Regions from separate parts of the Homo sapiens genome. Here region 1 is linked to region 2. Evidence: promoter capture Hi-C in 16 types of primary human blood cells and fetal thymus (Javierre and others, 2016). All regions are on one chromosome and are shown on one strand. The core of a region is centred on a gene start or on the middle of the fragment in contact, and the rest is flanking DNA. Distances in the headings are between cores, read along the strand shown.

Region 1 (5,724 bases), core at 284-2,783, 7.2 Mb after region 2:
CACACAGCCAGTTTTGAAACCAAAAGTGTGGCTCAAAAACTACTCTACTCTAAGTTGGCCTTTTAAGCCATAATGGTGAGAGAGGTGTGACTTCCCTTTCTTTAAAGAGGTTCATTCAGAAAGTATAAATCATTCTAAGTAGGAACCACGGTGTGTACCTCCTTATGAACCAAGGATGAATTAGTTCTCTAGGTTAGGAATGAGGAGCCACAGGCGCAGTGCCAGAGTTAACATGAGGTGTGTTCAAGATTTGGGCTGGGCAGCTCCTATGAACCGGTATATATTAGAATGTGTGTGTATGTTTTCCAGGGAATAAGAGAGTTGTGTTATGCTGTGTGAGGTTTATGTGTTTCATTTAACACACAGCAGTTACTATACCCCAGGCACCATTAAAATTGCTGGACAAGATCACATTTCAGCACGTATGTTAGGTAATGAGTGAGCAGGGTATGCACCGCGTGATGTGTGGCGGGCTGGTGTCTGTGCAGCCATGTACACAGATGATGGGTATTGGGCTGTGCTGGAAAGGAAAGGTCCGCTGTGAGGTGTGTGTTTAGAGTGGCAGTTTGTGCCGTGGTACAGATGGTAGTGTTTGAGGCTGGGGGAAGTGTTATGCTGGATGACTTGTGTGCAATGCATACGGGAAGTGCTGCACAGGAAAGACCGTGTATGCAGCACACATGTGCATTTTTTGTGCGTTACGGATAGTGCCGAATACCGGAGTTCCACAGGAAGGGATCTAGGTTGTGTCCTGGGCCTGTGTATGGTGCCTGCAGGCGCTGTGGATTGGGGTGCTTTGTATGTGTAGCGGTGTGTGCTGAAAGTGGTGCATACGACATGATTCATGCGGTGTGCTGGGTAGGGACGAAGGCTGGAGCAGTGCAGAGGAGGGGCCCGCGTCGTGATGTTGTGTGGAGCGATGCTGAGTGCGGTGGGTGAGGGGGCGATCGTGCTAGGTGACTCGCGTGCGTTCCCCGTGTAACCGGAGGCGCTGTATGGAGAAGGGGCACTGAGGGGTAGGGGAGCAGGCTAGCGTACTGTGAGACACCGGGCGGGCGGAGGGGCCGCGTGGGCGGCGGGCTGCCAGTGCGTGTGCGTGGAGCAGCCAGCCCACTTCCTCACCCAGAGCCATGCCGGGCCCCCCTCCCCGCCACCCTCCCTCCCGCCTCTTCCCTAGCCCTTGGACGCGCCCCCCGCTCGGCTGGGCCGCCCCACCTGGTAAAGGCGAAGTACATGAGGCTGACGATGGTGAAGCTGAGCAGGGTGATGGTATGCGGCCGGTAGAAGAAGTCAATGGTGATGTCCTCCACTTGCTGCTCGTTGATCATCCGGAAATGCATTTTGTAGTTCACATCATCCTTGCTTAGGGTCCGGCTCCCCACGCAGGACGCCATGGCCCGCCTCCCCGTCCTGCCGCGGTGGCGGCGGCCCCAGCCCGAGAAGGCCGGGACCCCGGGGGTGACTAGCCACAGTAGGCTAATAGCCGGACGGCAAAGCCGGGTCTGGCGCCCAGCAAAGGCTGGGAGCAGAGGGAAGGACAGGCGCGAGAGGGCGGGGTCGCGGCGCCGCCACCGCGGCCTGGGGCAGGGGACGCCGCCGGCCGTCCCCACGCTGTCATCCTAGCTGAGGCATCTCTACCACTCGAGGAATTTTCAGACTCCAAGTCCACAGGACTTCAGAGGAATAGCGAGCCGGAGAAGGGTAGCCGGGGCCCCTGGCTGGCTCTTTTCAGAGCACGTAGCCCGCTGTCTCCCCGCGTAACCCGGCACATGGTCTCGCCCACTCCGGGCGCGGCCCACGTGGGCCCGGGAGCGCGGCTGCGCTGTGTAGGGCGGGCTGAGGAGCCGGCGTGCGGCGCGGCGGGACGGGACGTGCGGCCCAGCGAGTTGGTCGGTCCCGGGGTCACCCGCTACGGGAAGCAGGCCTCGCCACAGGTAAAGCAGGAGCTGCCCCAGCACGAGGATCGCGCTCCTGGCGAGGGTTCAGGTTCCGGCGCACCCGCGTCCAGACCGCGCCCCAGGGCCTCAAGGGCCTTTAGGTTTTCGCGGCCCAGTAGAGGGTGATTGGTTTTGTTTTGTGTTTTTCCCTGGCTGATGTAGTGAAAACTCAACCATGCTGGCTAATTAGCGCAGTGTGAGAAGCCTCAGGAGGGGGCTCTGCCTTCCTGCGCAAGTTTGGGGAACTGAAGTGGGCTAAAATGGCCTGGGAAGTATTGAGAGACCCTTTATTAGGAAGCTGCCCCCATAACCTCCCTTTCTCTCCTGATTTCATTTATAGCATTTCGTAGGTAGAAATCTTGAACTCTATTTCAGTGCCTTTTTCTAGCGAAGCACTAGGCACTCATTGAGAACAGTATATATGAATTGTTAAGAGACTTCAGTTTCTTTAAGGGTTTTCTGTAATTTTCCTGATGAAAGGACCTTGTTAGAAGACTTCAGGTTACCACCTTACAGGGCTTTTATACACATCTGCACATCCCCTACCCGCTTTTGCATACTGTGTAAGCAAGTGAGTTAACTGTACTTGCCATTGATTTATTTCCATTCCGCAAACATTAGAGCAGTACAAGGCTCTGGGAAAGTGGAGAATAGTCCCCGGAAGGATGGATCCAGGGATGAGACCCAGCTCTGCTCTCGTGCATGAACAGTTAATCAATTGTTAAGATGTGTAGGCAGCAATGAAAGGATGTGGAGAAGATAGTGCACTTGTAAATAAAAATGCAAGGATAAACATTAGTTGTATGCACAAAGATCTTTTAATGACGGGGTGAAATTTGAAAGTGAGTCTTCCTGATGTTTAAGTGGTATTGAGTGTGGAAAGGCTTCAGGATGAATTTGGGATTTCAGGAGTTTGAAGTAGGATGAAGTGCTTAGACGTCAAAAAATGTTAGAGCTGATAGGGGCCTTAAGAATCATCTTATTGTACCCCTAGCCTTTTAAAAAAGCATTATTTGAAGAATAGTTATTGACCCCACCCCCACCCCCCACATCATGGGCTAGACTGCTGCTTTTGTTAGACTGCTGCCAGAAACAGCCTTGTCAAGGTAGCACAACCGAGGTCTTCTGACTTTCAATTTAGTGCCCTTATGACTACCGTGCAGAGAATGAATGTTGTAGGTTTGAGGGAAAACTTGGCACATTTGGAGTCCCATTTCCCACCAAAATCTAACAGAAACCACCTATCCCAGCAGGGTATTGTGAATACTTACTTCTTTTCTAAAATCATCGCAGAATGGGCCGAGCGCAGTGGCTCACGCCTGTAATCCCAGCACTTTGGGAAGCTGGGTGGATCACCTGAGGTAAGGAGTTCGAGGCCAGCCTGGCCAAGATGGTGAAACCCCGTCTCTACTAAAAACACAAAAAATTAGCCGGGCATAGTAGCGGGCGTGGGTAATCCCAGCTACTCGGGAGGCTGAGGCAGGAGAATCACTTGAACCTGGGAGGCAGAGGTTGCAGTGAGCCAAGATGGTGCCGTTGTACTCCAGCCTGGGCAACAAGGGCGAAACTCCGTCTCAAAAAAAATAATAATAATAATAATAATAAATAATTGCAGAATGAAAGGAAACTTTCACTTTTGTAAAATCTCTTTCAGCAAACTTCCCAAAACTACAGATCTCCAAGAAAAGATTAGACCCTCAAGTATTTGGTCTAATTTAGAGCATAAAACAAGCTGAATTCCAGTATGCAGAAAAACAAAGTATAAAGTTGTAGGCAGCAATTAATTCAGCAGAATTTTTGTATTTGGTTGTGTAACCAATAATAATGGCTAACATTTATTGAGCATTTCTTATATCCTGACTCCATCCTGTGTTTTATATGGATAATGTTATTTAACGTAAGATTATATGCATCAAATTTACCTTTCTAATTAGCTGGCTAAATATAAAATCCCTTCATATTCCTGGAGTTTAACATAGCACTAGCCTTTCCTGATAAAAATATTTTTGAAAACTACTTTTTCAGTCAAAATATACAGGTATTAATTGCTGGTTGCTTATTTATTTCTGTCACTTGGTTTTGTTACTAGTTTTGACCTTTTCTTTTTGAAGGCTTTTTTCTCCTTTCCTACAGTGAAACAAAACTTGACAAAACTGGTTTTGTTCAATTCCCTTTGGAAGAACAGCTTTATCTGTGAAGTAATCAACAGTGTTCAGCCCTGAGAATGAAGCAAGAAACTGCTTTCACTGTTCTGTATATCAATGATAATATTTTGATGATTTGTTTAGGACACAGTAGATTTCTGTTTTTTCATTTTGGGACAAATTTATATACATAAAATGCATTTGAATAATTCAGTGTTACTTTGATCAGCAATGTGCTGCGGAAACACCCTTCACACCAAATTTCAAGAACACTTATTTGCATCAGCTTATTCTCTTTAAATGATTAAATTAACAGATTAGTGAGGTCTGCTGTCACTTGAACATTTGCAGATTTTTGTTTTAAGCATTTTTCTTACACCAGTGTCATTGCATTTTGTTTTTAAATTGTAAAGTATATCTTTATTTTTCCACTCAGAAGTTCCTGTCTGTTGGTTTGTAACTGAGATTGCCTTGTTGTTGGCTTTTCCTGTACATAAGAAACATCTCACTATTTTAGACTAAATATATATTTAAACACCTTTCAATTAGAAAAAAATAATTTCCAGTTTATCTTTTTGTTGTTTGAATACCGTTTTAAACATTTAAGTAAATTAAATTTCTCTTCTTTTGACGGTTATATCTTTCCTTTGTAGACTAAGAAAAATGGCTTTGTCAGCCCAACAGATACCCAGATGGTTTAACTCAGTTAAGTTGAGGAGCCTCATTAATGCTGCACAACTCACAAAACGTTTTACTAGACCAGCAAGAACACTGTTACATGGCTTTTCTGCTCAGCCTCAGATATCCTCTGACAATTGCTTTCTCCAGTGGGGATTTAAGACTTACAGGACTTCCTCCTTATGGAATAGTTCCCAGTCTACTAGCTCAAGTAGTCAGGAGAATAATTCTGCCCAAAGCAGTCTGCTTCCTTCCATGAATGAACAGTCACAGAAGACACAAAATATATCCAGCTTTGATTCTGAGCTGTTTCTAGAAGGTAATTCTGAACTTTCAGAAAAGTCTCCCTTTCCCTACTTTGGCCATTTGAACAAGCTACCTGTTTACCTTCTGCTAGCCCATTTCAGGTAATATTTTGTGCCAAGAAAGAAAAAGAATAATACCAGTTCTATTGATGAACTTCTATCATGCCTTTATTTTACTGGTAAGAAAAAAAGTTTGTGGGCTAACGTGTAAGATTATTTTATAGCTACACATATAAAACATTTGCTTTTTAAATATTTTATTGTTTAGATTCTTAAAACAAAATTCTTCTAGTGGTAATTAGTTTTATTAGGGTATAATTATATCAAGTAAAATTCATCTTGTGGGATATATAGTTCTATGAATTTTGACATATGCATTTAGTGTGTAAGAACTACTGCAATCAACAAATAAAACAATTATATTAACTCCACAGAGTTCCCTCATGGTCGCTTTTTAGTCAATCCTCTCCTTCCTATGGGTCCTATTCTAGGAATATTTCGCTGGTAATGAAATGATATAAGGTTAAGTAGAATATGAAGGAAAGAGAGCTGGGGAGAGGGCAGGGAGGAGATGCTGGCTATAAATGATGAGAAAGGATAGTTAATGATGAGAAGCACAAAACAGAACAAAAGATCACAGACCTGATTCCTTAGCTTAAG
Region 2 (5,887 bases), core at 2,439-4,938:
ATGTCTAAAAAAACTCAGTGAGTAAAAAGTAAATGCATCTTCTTACCCCATGACTTCATCCTGCTGTTTCTTTCTGACTCCCTGGTAATGGTGTTATATCTAACATTCAACAAAGCTCTAGCCTAGGTCATTCTTATGTATTCCATCTTCCATATTCCCTACTACCAAAACTCAAAGTCCTACTCATCATCTCTTTGCAACACTTACTCATCTTTCAACTCTCTATTTCTAGTTTTTTGTGTTTTGTTTTTGTTTTTGTTTTGAGATGCGGTATCATTCTGTCACCCAAGCTGGAATGCAGTGATATGACTATAGCCTACTGCAGCCTCAACCTCCAGGGCTTAAGTGATCCTCCCACCTTAGCCTCTCACCTCAGCCTCCCAAGTAGCTTGGACCTGAGGCATGCACCACCATGCCCCATTAATCTTTAAATTTTTTGTAGAGACGGGGGTCTCCTTATGATGCCCAGGCTACTCTCGAACTCCTGGGCTCAAGAGATCCTCCCACCTTTGCCGCCCAAAGTGTTGGGTTTATGAATGTGAGCCACTGCATTCCCAGGCAGTTTGGGTCTTCATTATCTTATACTTGGGCTACTTTAATATCATCCCTACTTGATTTGGCGGCAATTTACACTATTATCAGATGTCTTTTTTTTTCTTTTTTTTTTGAGACGGAGTCTTGCTCTGTTGCCCAGGCTGGAGTGCAGTGGCGCAATCTCGGCTCACTGCAAGCTCCACCTCCCGGGTTCACACCATTCTCCTGCCTCAGCCTCCCGAGTAGCTGGGACTACAGGCACCCGCCACCATGCCCGGCTAATTTATTTATTTTTTTGTATTTTTAGTAGAGATGGGGTTTCACCATGTTAGCCAGGATAGTCTCGATCTCCTGACCTCGTGATCTTCCCGCCTCGGCCTCCCAAAGTGCTGGGATTACAGGCGTGAGCCACTGCGCCCAGCCTATCAGATGTCATCTTAAAACAGCTTTTTACATGTCACTCCCATGCTTAAAACTTCCAAAGGCTCCCTATATAGTAGTCTTCAAACTTTCTGTGTGCCCCATTAATAACAGAGTTTTTGAGCAGATCCCTTCTCAACATATGTGTATGTTAATGAGAGCATGTAATTAAAGATGTTCTTTTTTTTTTTTTTTTTTTGAGACGGAGTCTCCCTCTGTCACCCAGGCTGGAGTGCAGTGACGCAATCTCGGCTCACTGCAAGCTCTGCCTCCTGGGTTCACACCATTCTCCCGCCTCAGCCTCCTGAGTAGCTGTGACTACAGGCACCCAGCACCACGCTGGGCTAATTTTTTTGTATTTTTAGTAGAGACGGGATTTCACTGTGTTAGCCAGGATGGTCTCAATCTCCTGACCTCGTGATCCGCCCGTCTCGGCCTCCCAAAGTGCTGGGATTACAGGCATAAGCCACCACGCCCAGCCAAAGATCTTTTTTTTTAAGAAAAATCTTGATTCAACACTGTGATAGATTTAAAGGTTCTAATTTCAGCTTAATTCAATGTTTGGTTTTAATGGCTACTATTATAAAAAAAATTCAAGCAGTACTCACTTTCGCACTGTACTGTATTAACGGGACGGGTTGCATACTGGAATCAATTCCCCACTTTGCAAAGTTTCGTGGTTAACAGATGTGATTTCAATCACTGTAAACCTCTTAAAGAGTGGGACTGGTTCAGTTAATATGGTACTGTGCAAAGTGCAGAATGCCTGTACTTCACAAAGAAAGCATACCCAAAATGATAATGTCCATAATTGGCCACGTTTATTTAATATATTTAATTTTCAGTCTCATCCATCAGTTTTGCAAAGATTATTTTTGAAGTCTAGAAAATTTCTATCTACTCTGATGTCAGCAGCTGTTCCTACAACTAAAATTAGCATTTTAATAATTTCAACAGAAGTTTAAAAACCCCAACAAGATAGATCATTTTGTTTCTAAATCTCTTCATGTAGGCAAAAATGAATCTTTATAGATGGAGAAACTGACATTTATTAAAGCAACTATGTGCTAGGTGCTGTCTTAACAGTGCATACACGAACATGATTCTTCCCCTTTTTGGAGGCTAAGTCTGATGGGAAAGACTATTAACCAAAATAATAATCATGAGACAATGTGATAAACACTGTGAAGAAGTGATAGAATCACAGAAGACGGGTGCTGAAGGGGGCGGGGCTCATGCAGGAGGTAAGCAGGAACAGATTACTGTTCGGTGAAAGTCTTCCAGAGAAAGCGGCTAAACTGGGTAAGGGTGTGTGCCACAGGAGGCCTTAAAAAAGATGACTGAAACGCACTGAGATTTGCAAGGGTGAATACTAAACCACTTGTGGGAAACGTAGTGACTGACTAAAGTGGCAAGGAAGGTGGGACCAGAGATTCAAGGACTGGGAACGATGCCAAATCCAAGTGACAAATCTAATTTATATTTTAGAAACATTACTGCCTTGTGACAAACTGTAAACATCTTTTGAGCAGAGACTTATTAGCAATGCTCACACACATGTTGATAATATCTCCTACTCAACCAAAATAGTGAAATACTGTTTTCGCCTCATCTCATCTCGCTTACTCCTCATTCAAACTAATGACACAGCCCTTCTTTCTATGCCTTAGGTTCATTCCTGCCTGAAGACCTTTGCTCCTGTTATTCTCTTTATTTAGAACAATCTGCTTACGCATGGTTGGTCCCTTGTCATTTAGGTATCACAAAGTACAATTTATAAGTGGTTAGCATGTTAACGGGGGAACAGACCAGGAAGGATAAATTAATTTCATTTAACCATTCTTTCATCAAACTTCTTAAGGGATGGTAAGAGAAAACTGATGCTTTTAAATTCATCTTTGTCTCTTCCAACATCCACAACTAATGTGAAGTAGTAAAGCGGCAAGAAGAGCAGTAGGAAGGTTTTAAAAGCCTGTTTAACTCTCAGCCCTTCAACCCACGAGTTTGGCTCATTCAAGTCCACTTTTCAGTAATAGGAACCTGAAGACAATCCCAGAGCAGCAGCTGGAATTTTTCTCCACTATAGACAACTGTTTCCCACTCACCACTAGAGGAAATTCTTAGAAAAAGGACTTGAACAGACTTTACTTGCTATCCATCCAGTTCCGCAGCGACTCCGTAAGCACAAAGTTTGCCTTAGCGAAAGGTAACTGAGAAAGAACCAGACCAGAGTGCCAGCCTCCCCCGGCTTTACTCCGCGAAAGCCGAGGCTAGACCCAACGACTTGCGGAAACCGTCCCTTTCTCCCTACCAACTTATCTTACCTCTCTGTAAGTCCAACTTGGTTTCGCGGACATAATTGTCCGGATTCCGGCTCAGCATCTTCACCTTCATCTCGGTTGCTCTTCCGGCCGGACTCCACGAGGTGTCCGCTAGGAGTTCCGCCCACCGCCACCTCCTCCCACAGGCGACTTCCGCTTTTCCCAGACTACTTCCAGTCACGTGACTCGCGGAGCGGCGGCCTGCTGGCTCAACTGGATCCTGCGCCGCTCCGTAGTTTTGCCGGCAAACGTTAGCAAGGGGCGGTTCTTTAGCTGTGCAGTCGCTTCCGCGTCCGTGGGCTGGAGCATTTGTGGGCGAGGCAGGGCGGAGACTCGGGAGAGGCTGGGACCTCCCCTCCATCGCGCTTTCCGCCGGCGTGACGTAGTGTCTGTGCCCCGTTCTTGCCCCCTCAGTACTAGAGTCTCCGGCTTCGCTCACGCGCCTTGGGCATAAGAGTCCTCTCGTTGGTCCCGGAGGTGGGGTTGCGCTCACAAGGGGCGACCGTCGCCACGGTGGCGGCCACTGCATCGCGTCCCACCTCCGCGGCCCTGGGCGCCGTGGTGTCGACGGGCCCCGAGCCTATGACGGGCCAGGGCCAGTCGGCGTCCGGGTCGTCGGCGTGGAGCACGGTATTCCGCCACGTCCGGTATGAGAACCTGATAGCGGGCGTGAGCGGCGGCGTCTTATCCAACCTTGCGCTGCATCCGCTCGACCTCGTGAAGATCCGCTTCGCCGGTAAGAGCCCGCCCAGACACCGGGCTGCATCCTCTCACTGTCAGCCCGAACTGGATCTCCTCCGTCTTTTCCGTTCTAGGGGGAGGAGGAGCGTTGAAGGGAGCGTTGCTGTCCGCGTTGGCTAACCTGAACTAGATTTGAGGAAATGGTGCTTGGTGGAGGGGTCGGCCTGCGATCTTCCCCGCTCCTCAAGACTAAGAGAGGGGGCATGTATGTAGAGAAGTCTGAGAAAAAACATCCTCATTGGCAGAGAAGATGGGATTCAAAGCCTGATTTGTAAAATAAAGAAGGGATTGTCACATTTTAAGGTTTAGTCCTCACACGTGCAAATCATTCACTCTTGGAGGAACTTTGAAATCTTAGCATACCCACGTGGTTTGGCAGCTCGACTAGTATTGGGATAGGGCGTAATCTTCAGCGAATGGTTGGGAGTAGATTTAGAATAGAATTCTCTTGAATGTTTGTTTTTTGGCATTTGTAGAATGGTACAAGTTTCTGTGAAAAAATAGCTAGAATCGAAATACTATTTTAAGTGTATTAGATGAATTGAGTATGTTGAAATTAACAAAGCATTTTAGAAGTTAAACTCAACACTAAAGTCTGGAAAGAGTTTCAAAGATGATCTTTGATAACTGAAATTGCAGAAAATAGTTTCCAAATAAAGTTATTACAAGTTAAGTTCAGCCTTGAGAATTAAATCTACAGAAGTTGTTTATTTTAGCATTAGGCAATTCAGTTCACTTGATTTATATTCTCTTAATATTTGTAGACTGCTGTATGGGCTACAGAAGTATCTAATAAAGTTCTTGCCTTCAGGGAACTTAGAATTTAATTGTAGGCGTTAGACTTAGTCATATAAAAGGTAATTCTAGACAACATAAAATCAAGAAATACAAAAACAAAATATAAATACAGGTAAACCGTTAAGAAAATTCTACATTACTGATGGCCATGTGTATCTTTAAGGTTCAGTGGAAGATTGGGGCTTGGGGTTTCCCATAGAAGGGCTAATATTTTGACAGCTGGAGAGGAAGCAAGAACCCGTTCTATGAAGGAAAATCATCGAAAATTATGGAGTATTATCTCTAGAAAAAACACCACAAAGACATATAATGTCATGAAGTTTTATGATGCATGCACAAATAATTATGTTATTGACAAGTAATCTTTATCGAGTATTTACTAGGAGCAAGGCAGTGAACTATGCTTTAGATGCATTATCTCATTTATTATCCTGTAAATCTATTCACAGGAACAATCCTGTGAGTTTATGATATCTGCTATACAGATGAGGATAACAGAAGTTGACTAACTTGCCCAAGTCACAAGTTTGTAAAGATGGATCTGGGATTTAAACCCAGGTAATCTAACTCTGGAACCCTCTGGCACTTAACCCCTCACCGTATTACCTCTATAAGTACCTGTTATACAATGGTTTGAACATTGGAAGAATTTTAGACTTGCCTGCAGGTGCAGGCCTGTATGACTTGCTGTCTGTCTTCAGTAGCATTTTATCTAGGAGCAGAAGAGGTGATAGTCGAGGTGATCATTGAAGAATAGTGTGGTTGGCCTGATGAGTTTAGACAGTGCTTTGAAGCATATCATTCCTGAGGAAAGGGAATTCTTGGTACCTGAGAAGATTAATAGTCTTGATGAATTGGGAAGAGTATTAGGAGACTAGTGGGGCTGAGGTGACAGATAAAAGGATTGAGTTTGGATTGGAGGCCTAAATTAAAGATCCAGGAGTGGAAGCAGGACTTTGTAATAATAAAGCTCACAGTGTAGCTGTGAAATGGTGATAGGAGGAAAACTTAAGAAGATGAATAACGAAATAAAAATTTATTGATTATCAACATCAGTGCTGAGTAACATACTA

What was found. The method cuts DNA at HindIII sites, captures the fragments that hold promoters and counts their contacts. A CHiCAGO score of 5 or more calls a contact.
Region 1: a contact is called between the fragment with the promoter of PTDSS1 here and the fragment with the promoter of SLC25A32 in region 2, in 1 of 17 cell types (non-activated CD4 T cells). The highest score is 7.2, in non-activated CD4 T cells.

Annotation. Positions count from the first base shown.
Region 1 is chr8:96,257,711-96,263,434 of GRCh38, reverse strand. It overlaps PTDSS1 (phosphatidylserine synthase 1), which reads right to left and starts at 1,533. Exons shown (of 13, transcript NM_014754.3): 1 at 1,216-1,533. The coding sequence starts at 1,394. It overlaps MTERF3 (mitochondrial transcription termination factor 3), which reads left to right and starts at 1,825. Exons shown (of 8, transcript NM_015942.5): 1 at 1,825-1,934; 2 at 4,735-5,078. The coding sequence starts at 4,745. RefSeq lists enhancers at 608-847, 993-1,685, 2,168-2,227, 2,379-3,072 and silencers at 998-1,177, 1,228-1,597, 1,778-1,927, 1,680-2,004. The HindIII fragment of the contact is 8,922 bases long and covers 1-5,724 here.
Region 2 is chr8:103,412,908-103,418,794 of GRCh38, reverse strand. SLC25A32 (solute carrier family 25 member 32) reads left to right here and starts at 3,688. Exons shown (of 7, transcript NM_030780.5): 1 at 3,688-4,011. The coding sequence starts at 3,858. It overlaps DCAF13 (DDB1 and CUL4 associated factor 13), which reads right to left and starts at 3,409. Exons shown (of 11, transcript NM_015420.7): 1 at 3,279-3,409. The coding sequence starts at 3,348. RefSeq lists enhancers at 1-187, 3,328-3,667, 3,401-4,022. The HindIII fragment of the contact is 9,226 bases long and covers 1-5,887 here.